2 separate regions of the Homo sapiens genome follow, and region 2 is linked to region 1. The links are contacts of gene promoters, found by promoter capture Hi-C in human tissues and cell types (Jung and others, 2019). All regions are on one chromosome and are shown on one strand. Each heading gives the region's core, a stretch centred on a gene start or on the middle of the fragment in contact. The rest is flanking DNA. Distances are from core to core; before and after follow the strand shown.

Region 1 (4,311 bases), core at 727-3,226:
TTGGGGGGTGGGGGGATTGTGCCTGACTGGCCTGGGGTTGGGGGAGGGCTGTCTACACCATAATTTGGTGTCAAAATAGGGAAGGGATGGAAATGTAGTACCCGGATGTCTTTGTAGAGGACTCAGAAGGAAGTAGAGGAGGGGTCTTAAGTGGGGCTATATGCCAAGAAAGTGGGTCGGTGGGGCTGAGACTGTCGGCTGAGGGTTAGGGTAGTGCTGGTAGGGTCTGGAAGCCGGGGAGTTGTCGGTGTGGGGTCGGAAAGCTGGAGGGGGTGTGAGAGCGAGGGTGTCAGTGGAAGGGTCTATGTTATCAAGGCAGTGTCCAGGATGGAGGTCAGGGCAGAATCCAGGAGTGGGTGAGAGGACAGTCCTTGGCGCACTCGGGACATCTGGCTGGGCGGAGTCAGATCGGCTTTAATAGAGGGAGCCTGAGGAGGCTCCCGGGGTGCGGGCGCGGCCCAGCCCCCTCCTACTTGGCTGCGGCTGGCGGTGGGGCCTGGGCCGACGCTGGTGCGGCCTGGATGGACAGGACGCCCTCGGGGGACAGCGCGGACGTCACGGCAGCCGGATCCACGCCAGGCGGCAGGCGGTAGCGACGGTGGAACTCGCGCGCGACGAATCCGTGCTCATCCTGGAGGGGAGGGAGGCTTGAGCGGCCCCGCCCCTCCGGCCCGGCGGCGAGCGTACCCGCTCCAGCCCCGCCCCACGCCGCGGCTCACCGGGCGCTCCTCGTGGCGCGCGTGCACCTCCACGTGTTCGCCCACCACCTTGACAGCAATTTCCTCCGGCGAGAAGTGCTTCACGTCTAGCAGCACCGAAAAGTGGCCGGGGTCCGTCGGCACCTGAGCGCAGCGGGCGCGGGCGGGACTGTCATTGGGCTGGGCCAGGCTCCAGGACCCACCCAGGGAGACCCCACCCCCGTCGGTTCCGTGCCGCGGCTCACTCTGGCCTCCGGAGTTGAGCAGTCAGCTCTCCTACTGGGAGTCACCCAGGACCTCTTCACCCTGAACAACAGGGATACGCCCTCCCCCTGTAATATCTGGGATTGCCCTCTCCCCCGCAGTGATGAGGCTCCCTTCCCCTGCAAGGTCAGGAACCTCTGCCCTCCCCCGGTGTCAGCGAATCCGAAGTCATCGTGCCCCCCAGGGCACTGATTCCCCAGCTCCCTCCTCAGAGCCCCGGGTCCCTTCTCCGCCAGCCCCGCCAAACTCGCCAAGATGCCCCTTTCCCCGTCTCCAGGGTCCTCTGCCTACTCTCCCACTCGAGTCACGGGACCTCGGCAGCTACTGGTAGCCTTCCCCCACTTCAGAGTGGCCGGGAACCCTTCCTCAAGTCGCAGGGCCCTCTCCCCTCCTCTTCTGGAGATATCGGGCCACCGCACACAGTCTCTCAACTCTTCCCCGAGACTAAGAACATTCCTTCCCCTCAGGAGTCACTGCCCGCCTCCTTTTCCCCAGATTTCCCGGATCACCAGCCTCCTTCAGAGTAAGCAAGACTCCCCTTAGAGTGACCCAGGCCTTCCATTCTCTGGAGAGCTGAGAGCCCCCCACCCCGCCCCCCACCTAAGAGCGACGGGGACCTCCCACCCGCTGCAGTGTGCGGGCCTCAGATTCCCATTGACTCCGGAAGCCCTTCGGAGCTGCGGACTCTCCACCCCGCCCAAGGCCAACGAACATTCTCTCACATGTTCCCACCCCAGGCTGCCCCAGACCCCTGGCAATGGAAGTGGTCGAGTTCACCCCTCCCCAGGCCTGGCACCTGGGCGACGGGCAGCGCCACGCTGGGTGCGCGCAGGTAGTAGGGGGCGAGCGTGGTGGGGCAGAGCGCAGCCAGCTCGGCCTCCAGCAGCCCCTCGCCGAAGCGCTGGTCAAAGAGGCGTCCGGGCGCCGAAAGTCCGGGCAACGGGGCCGAGGCGCGGCGCAGCCAAGACGGCTGCACAGGCACAGGGATCTCCATCCTGCTCCTCCGCGTTGCAGTGCCCCTGCGTGCGCAGCCGCTCATTTATAGTGCGCCCTGTGCCGGCCCCTCGGAGGGCTGCCCAGGGACACTGGGACCGTGGCCAGACCCGGCCATTAGGAGAGCCTTATTTAGAAACCCAAACAATGACTTGGCCATTTATTAAGCGCCTGCTGGATGCCTGGCAAATGCTGTCAAGAAGGTGACATGAAGATTCCCCAATTTCCAGAAGAGGAAACTAAGGCTGAGGAGGGGGAGCCTTGCGGGTGTGGGGAGCACAGCGTGGTGATTGGGGCCCAGGACCCAAGAGGCCCACGGAAGAGTTTCCAGTCCCTTTAATCCACTGCCTCCCCCCTGGCAGCTCTGAGGATGACGCAGATGGAGGTCTTTAGGAGCAGATTCCTGGAGAATGCGGTAGCCCCGCCAGGATGTCAGGAGGACATAGAACAGGCCCTCCCTACCCTTATCCTCAGCCAGACCTTGGGCCCAGTCCCCCGGCAGGCCGGGCCTAATTCTGTGCCTCTGACTCAGCCTCTGGTGCGCAGAGGCCAGGGGGCGCGAGCATGAACAGTTCAGGCTGGCCCCCCGGGGGCCGCGCGCTGGGGCTGGAAATAGCTCATTTTGATCCCGCTACCTCGGCCAGGAGCCCAGACCTGGCAACTGATGCAACCAGCTGCTCCTGCAGCAAGAAAGAAGTTAGATGACCGTTGGGACGGACTGATTGGCCCAACTGATGGAGGAATAGCGGTTAGAGAGAGGGCAGAGCGCGCCCCCCCCCCAACCCGCCCCACTGCCCCTGCAACAGAAAGAATGGTAGTTAGACCGGGGTCGGGACAGGACTTCTGCAGCAAGAAGGCGCTTAAAAAGCGGGACTTTTAAGCGAGGGTACTTTAGATCACCTCCTAACCGCAAGCCCAGCCTCAGATCCTTCCCATTGGTGCACGGTCTTGCCAATTACTGCTACACTCGGCAGGTTCTCCAATCAAACACGCCCTGTCGGGCAGGCAGTCGTCCCAGCCAATCCTGAAACACCTCCCTCCGGGTACTTCTGTTTCCTCTCTTTCATTGGTCGCCTTGGAGGCCGCTCGCCTCCGGCGCGGGCACAGAGAGGGGCGGGGCTGATAGGGCGTTGCTAAGCGACGGAGATGCGCGCGGGGCCTGTTGGGTGAAGGAGCAGAGCGGCCGGAAGCGCGGAGGGAGCCGCGGGATGGACCGCAGGTGAGGCCGATCGCTCTTCCAGGGACTACAGGAGGCTGGGGAGGACCAACGGCGAGAGCAGCACAGCCTAGGACGGGCTGGATACGGTCTGGAGTCGCTAGGGCTCCACCGCACTGGAACTACAATTCCCAACATGCTCCACAGCCGTTGGCCTCTCCAGCCGTAGCCGTTAGCATCCCGGGGGTCCCCTAAGAGTCTTATGTTCCTCTCTGAGTGGGCCCCAAGGAATTATTGCCTCTAAAGGTGTCCAAGAAAGGCTTGAGATCTGAATTTCTTCATTTTGAAATGGCCCCCAGACACGCCTGGGCGTTGTCTTTGAACTTTCTCGCGGAGGCGGAGCCCAGTGGATCCTGGGGCTTGTAGTCCATCTACCCTTTGCCTTCGTGTCCCCCAGGAATGTATGGGAAATGCTCGGTGATATAATCCAGCCGCGGTTCTTTCTTTCTTTCTTTTTTTTTAAGACAGAGTCTCTCGCTCTGTTGGCCCAGACTGGAGTGCAGTGGCACAATCTTGGCTACTGCAACCTCTGCCCCCGGGTTAAAGCAATTCTCATGCCTCAGCCTCCCAGGTAGCTGGGACTACAGGCACCTGCCACCGCGCCTGGCTAATTTTTTATATTTTTAGTAGAGACGGGGTTTCGCCATGTTAGTAAGGCTGGTCTCGAACACCTGACCTCAAGTGATCCACCCGCCTCGGTGTAATCCCAAAGTGCTGGGATTACAGGCGTGAGCCACCACGCCCGGCGAGCCGCGATTCTTAACCTGAACTCCACTTCGCAATCACCTGGGACGCTGCGGAAAAGACACGGAGGCCCAGCCCCACTAATAGATATTCTGATTCTGTTGGTCTGGAATGGGAACCGCGCGCCTGTAACGTTGAAAAGCCCCTCCTAGACTGGATCCAGGGTTGAGAACCACCGGCTGTCAGTTCCTGAGTTGCTCCCTGTTAAGACTGCTCCAGGGGCGGGCTCCCAGGACTCACCCTTCCACTGTCGATATCCTGAATGTGCAACGGTGCTTCATGGAAATGACAGTCCGTCTCCTCCAGGAATCTATGGGAATTGTCTGGTTCTGCCCTCCTCTAATGTCCCCCTCCCCAGGGCTGCGGCGAAACCACGTGCTGCCTGAACCCCACTTT
Region 2 (4,311 bases), core at 1,303-3,802, 270 kb before region 1:
CCCTGTCCCCACTCTCTCTCCCATATCTTCTGCTTCTTCCCTTACCCCCAAGCTCCATACCCTCCTAATGCCCACACCTCTTACCTTAGGAAAGGCATCCCAGTTGAGGAAAGGAAGTTTCCTTTTGATAGACTAAAAGAAAGAAAGAGAAAGAGAGTGATGTGTTGCAGGTCAGCCGGGCATGGATGGGTAAGCATTCCCTTAATGAACTCCCACAGTAACCATAGTAACAATAATGTCATTATTTTGTCATTACTTTATCAAGAGCTAATATTTCCTGAGGCCTTAGTCTGTGTCTGCCTTGCACGGGCTGCTCTACAAGCATGATTTCAGTGGGTTTTTACAGCAACCTTTTGTGGTGGGAATTGTCATCATCCCCACATCACAGAGGAAGCGGAGGCCGAGGGAGCTGAAGGCGTTCGCATGAGGCCATGTGAGAAGTCAGTGCAGAGTCAGGAGACGCGGGCCCCAGCTCTGTCGCTGACTTTGCCTTCTAAGTGCGGGTGGGCCTCAGTTTTTCCATAGAGGATGAGGGGATTCAAATAAAATCTTGACCGATTAGCCTCTTCCTCTTCTGCAATTGTCCTTGGGGCCCTGCTCCTCCACCACCATCTTAGGAAAACACGGGTAGCCAGGACTGGCGCCGGGGGAAGCTTTCTTCCGTTGACAGCCCATTGGGCAGCATCCAGGCAGGACAGTCACTCCCTCCCAGAGATCAGGAACCAACCCATACATTTAAAGCCAAAATGTGTGGCCACTACCCTGGGATGACTGCAGACAACCGAGGAGGGCAAGGGGCGCCGGAGCACTCACCTCAAAGAGGGCGTGCCAGTTCAGGAACTCATCAGCCTTAAACGCCTGAGGAGGAAGAGAGACAGCAGAAGCAGGTCAGCTCCAGGGGAGGCCAGAGCTTAGCCCCCAGCCCTCTGGAGAAGGTGAAGGAACCGTGGCAGCTTTGCAAGCTCTCTACCAAGGCGTTTATCCCCTCTGTGATGAGGGTATTCGTGGGGGTAGCACCAGAGAAGCGTACTCACAGATCGCAATTTGTCGATGTTCAGGAACGGGGTGTTAAAGGCCTAGGCAGAAACGCAGGGTGTTAGGAAAGTTGCTAAGAAGCAAAAAGAGAGAGAGGACAGACTCGTGGCTGGAGGGCCGGGGAAAACAGACGGCTTACCTCGGGTCGTGACGCATAATTCTCAATGGTGCTTTCTTCCTGGAAAAGGAGAGGGAGAAAAGGCGGCAGGGGGTCACGTGATGCCAGGGCCCTTGCCCACATCCCTGTCTGCCAGCTCTGCCTTCATCCACAGCCCAGTCCCCGAAAGAACGCAACCCATTCCCCACCATGGTCTCCGTTCCAGTCGCGCACATGGTTGGCGGATGTGCAGGGTGAGGAGGGGGAATTGGAGAATGGTACATGTAAGCAGTGTCACCATGGGCAGCAGGCAGAAAGCCTGGAGCCGAGCATTCCTCTCCGGAAAAGCTAGCTAGTGCTGTCCTGCAGTTGACTTAAGTCTAAGAGGTGGGGTGTTCTGGAGACACCCACGCTCAGTCCGTATAGCTGGATGGGAAAGATTTGCGAGCAGGTGGGAGCCCAGCTGCTGAGGTGACCCGCCTGCCTCTCACTGATCGAGGTTGCTTTGCTTTGTGGATTTATTGCCACCACTGTTGGAGGTTCCATAATCCCCCTCCATGGGGACCCCACCCCAGGCCTCAGTGTGTCCCATCGTGTCTTCCCCATGACAGAGCCCAACACGGAGCCCGCAGGCTGGATCCAGATGCTTAGATCTCATAAAAATTTGGTCATTTGTTTTTTGGTTTGAATTAGACATTTTGAATTAGTAAGAATTCATAAATTCATCCAGATTTCTAGTTTCCCCTGAAAAATGTAAAACTCTAGGCACATCTTCCCAATCCATGGCGTCAGGTGGGGTGAAAGCTGCCCTTTCAGACTGGGAAAGTTGGCCCCATTTCACCTCAGGCCCTGACAGCCCCCCCAGCTCAGTGACACCACTGGCTTGGTCCTTAGCAGCTGAGCCTGTGCCCCTGTCTTAGACTTTTAAATCCGGAATAGGCATCAGGATTCCTCTCTGGCTGAGGACTGGATGGTAAAGATTCTCACTGTGGCCTATGCTCCAGAGACAGCAGGGAGCCACCCGTCACCTGGGCACCACTCCCAGGGGCACAAATGAAGCAAAGAGGAGCTAAGCAGGGGTGTCTCCAGAACACCCCAGCCCCACTCCTCTTTGAGTTAAGTCAGCTGCAGGCAGAACTAGCTAGTTTTTTGCTTTGCTTCACCCTCTCCACCTGCTGCCCATGTGGATGCAGGCCTGGGTTTGGAGCTGCTCTGCCTCACATTGCCGTTCTCCAGTTCCCCCTCTTCCCCTGCACGTCCCCAGGCATGTGTGCAGCTGGAACGGAATGGGTGAACACTCTTGAGAGCCCATGGTGGAGATAGTCTGAACCCAGACCACCCACTCAGTCCCAAGGTTCAGTACACGAGCCTCCCCAACACACTTCACCATCCCTTCCAGAAAGAGGAGCATCTCTGTCCCAAATGTCTCCCCAGGGATGCTCTGTTCCCTCCTCCCTTCCTCAGAGCCCCAGTTTCTTCAGCCCCCATCAGAATCCAAAACTAAGAGCCACTTATCCAGGAATGGACAGGAGGTAGAGAGATGGAGGGGTAGGTGGGTAACACGTATAAGAATAAAAATGCAGGTGACGTGCTCACCTCAGGACCACCCAGGGTGGCTCCCTGGGCAGAGTGGAGCACCAGGAGGGAGAGGAGCACCACGGCAGGAAGGACCGGGATCTTCATGGCGTCAAGTTTGGGGTGCTCTGAGGCGGGGCCTCAGTGCTTGCTCTTTATATTGCCAAGGAGGCAGATGAGCACAGAAATGGGGTCCCCACCCCACTGACTCACCCCCAGATCTTGTCGCCCACCCCCGGGGCTCTGGGAGGGGGAGGCATGGACTGTTCCTCATTTGCCTCGGATTTCTCAATTCGCATTCTGCCCCAGGCACGTGGAAGGTAACACTGCAATGGGTCTCTTCATGCAGATGGGGCTGGGACAGAGACAGGTTGGACCTGTCCCTCCAAGGGATTGGCAGTGGTACCCAAGCAACCTCTCCTTTTGTCTTTGTCTCTTTTCGTTATATCCCTCATTCCTCTCTTAGAATTCAGGCTTTTTCTTTTCTTTTCTTTTCTTTTTTTTTGACAGGCTCTCACTCGTTGCCCAGACTGGAGTGCAGTGGTGTGATCACAGCTCACTGCAGCCTTGACCTCCCAGGCTCAAGCAATCCTCCCACCTCAGTCTCCCTAGTAGCTGGGACTAGAGGCACGCATCACCTCACCTAGCTAACTTTTTTATTTTCTTGTAGAGATGTTGCAGCTTTTTTTTTTTTTAATTTTCTCGTAGAGATGAAAATGTCTCGCCATGTTGCCCAAGCTGGCCTCAAACTCCTGGACTCAAGGGGTCCGCCTGCCTTGACCTCCCAAAGGACTATAGGTGTGAGCCTGCGCTCCATGCTCATTCAGGCCTTTTCTTCCACCCTACCAAAATCTATGTAAACTCTTTAGCTTGGCATTGAAGGTGGTCCATGCTCTGAACTCAACCCACCTTTATAACTTCTTCCTTTACTAGCTTTGTACATACCTCACATTCTGGCCAAATTAGACCCCTTACCAACTATATCCTTCTTTTTCCCTCTTCAAAGCATCCGGCCATGCTGTTCCTTATTCCTAACATGGCCTTCTCTCATCTCCAGTTCTCAGAACCCAACACTCATCTTGGATGAAGCTTCCCAGATTTTTCCTGCAATGCCCAGTCCTTCTCTCCACACCTTTCCTTTCACAGAATTCCCATATTCATTCGTTTGTATGTCTCTGGCATTGTATCTAAGTAAGTCATGTTCTCGCCTTGTTTCCCTTTTAGAGTATCAAGTTCCTTGAGGTCAGGAGCTGTATCTTGATCAGCTTTACATCCCCCTAGAACCATGGCTCACACAGAACCCAGGTAGAGTCAGCATTGGTCAGATATGATACGTTAGACTTAGTATTCAGGCATCCTTCAGCCACAGTGTACATTTTCCTTTCATGGGGCTGAACCTTTCCATTTTCCAACTGCCCGTCTTTTACTCTTGGGTCTTCAGAGAAATGACTGTCTTGAGCTAAGATGACAAGGAACAGGGAACAAAAAACAGCTCTTAGGGTGCCCAGTTGGAGATGGGATCCAGGTACCCTGAACCTGGAGTGCCCACTCCATGTCATTGCCCTAACCCACCTTGCCCCACCCCCAGTTTGGAAGTTGGATCA

What was found. The method cuts DNA at HindIII sites, captures the fragments that hold promoters and counts their contacts. A contact is called where the count stands out against the background at its distance.
Region 2: a contact is called between a fragment that was not itself captured here and the fragment with the promoter of HSPB6 in region 1, in 1 of the 25 tissues and cell types used here (pancreas).

The regions. Positions count from the first base shown.
Region 1 is chr19:35,755,053-35,759,363 of GRCh38, forward strand. HSPB6 (heat shock protein family B (small) member 6) reads right to left here and starts at 1,977. Exons shown (of 3, transcript NM_144617.3): 1 at 1,759-1,977; 2 at 720-842; 3 at 1-631. The coding sequence starts at 1,956. The coding sequence ends at 470. PROSER3 (proline and serine rich 3) reads left to right here and starts at 3,124. Exons shown (of 11, transcript NM_001367856.1): 1 at 3,124-3,174. The coding sequence starts at 3,164. RefSeq lists enhancers at 2,229-2,800, 3,129-3,368, 3,409-3,468. The HindIII fragment of the contact is 17,144 bases long and covers 1-4,311 here.
Region 2 is chr19:35,487,628-35,491,938 of GRCh38, forward strand. KRTDAP (keratinocyte differentiation associated protein) reads right to left here and starts at 2,837. Exons shown (of 6, transcript NM_207392.3): 1 at 2,729-2,837; 2 at 1,175-1,213; 3 at 1,035-1,076; 4 at 814-858; 5 at 85-132. The coding sequence starts at 2,815. The HindIII fragment of the contact is 6,388 bases long and covers 1-4,311 here.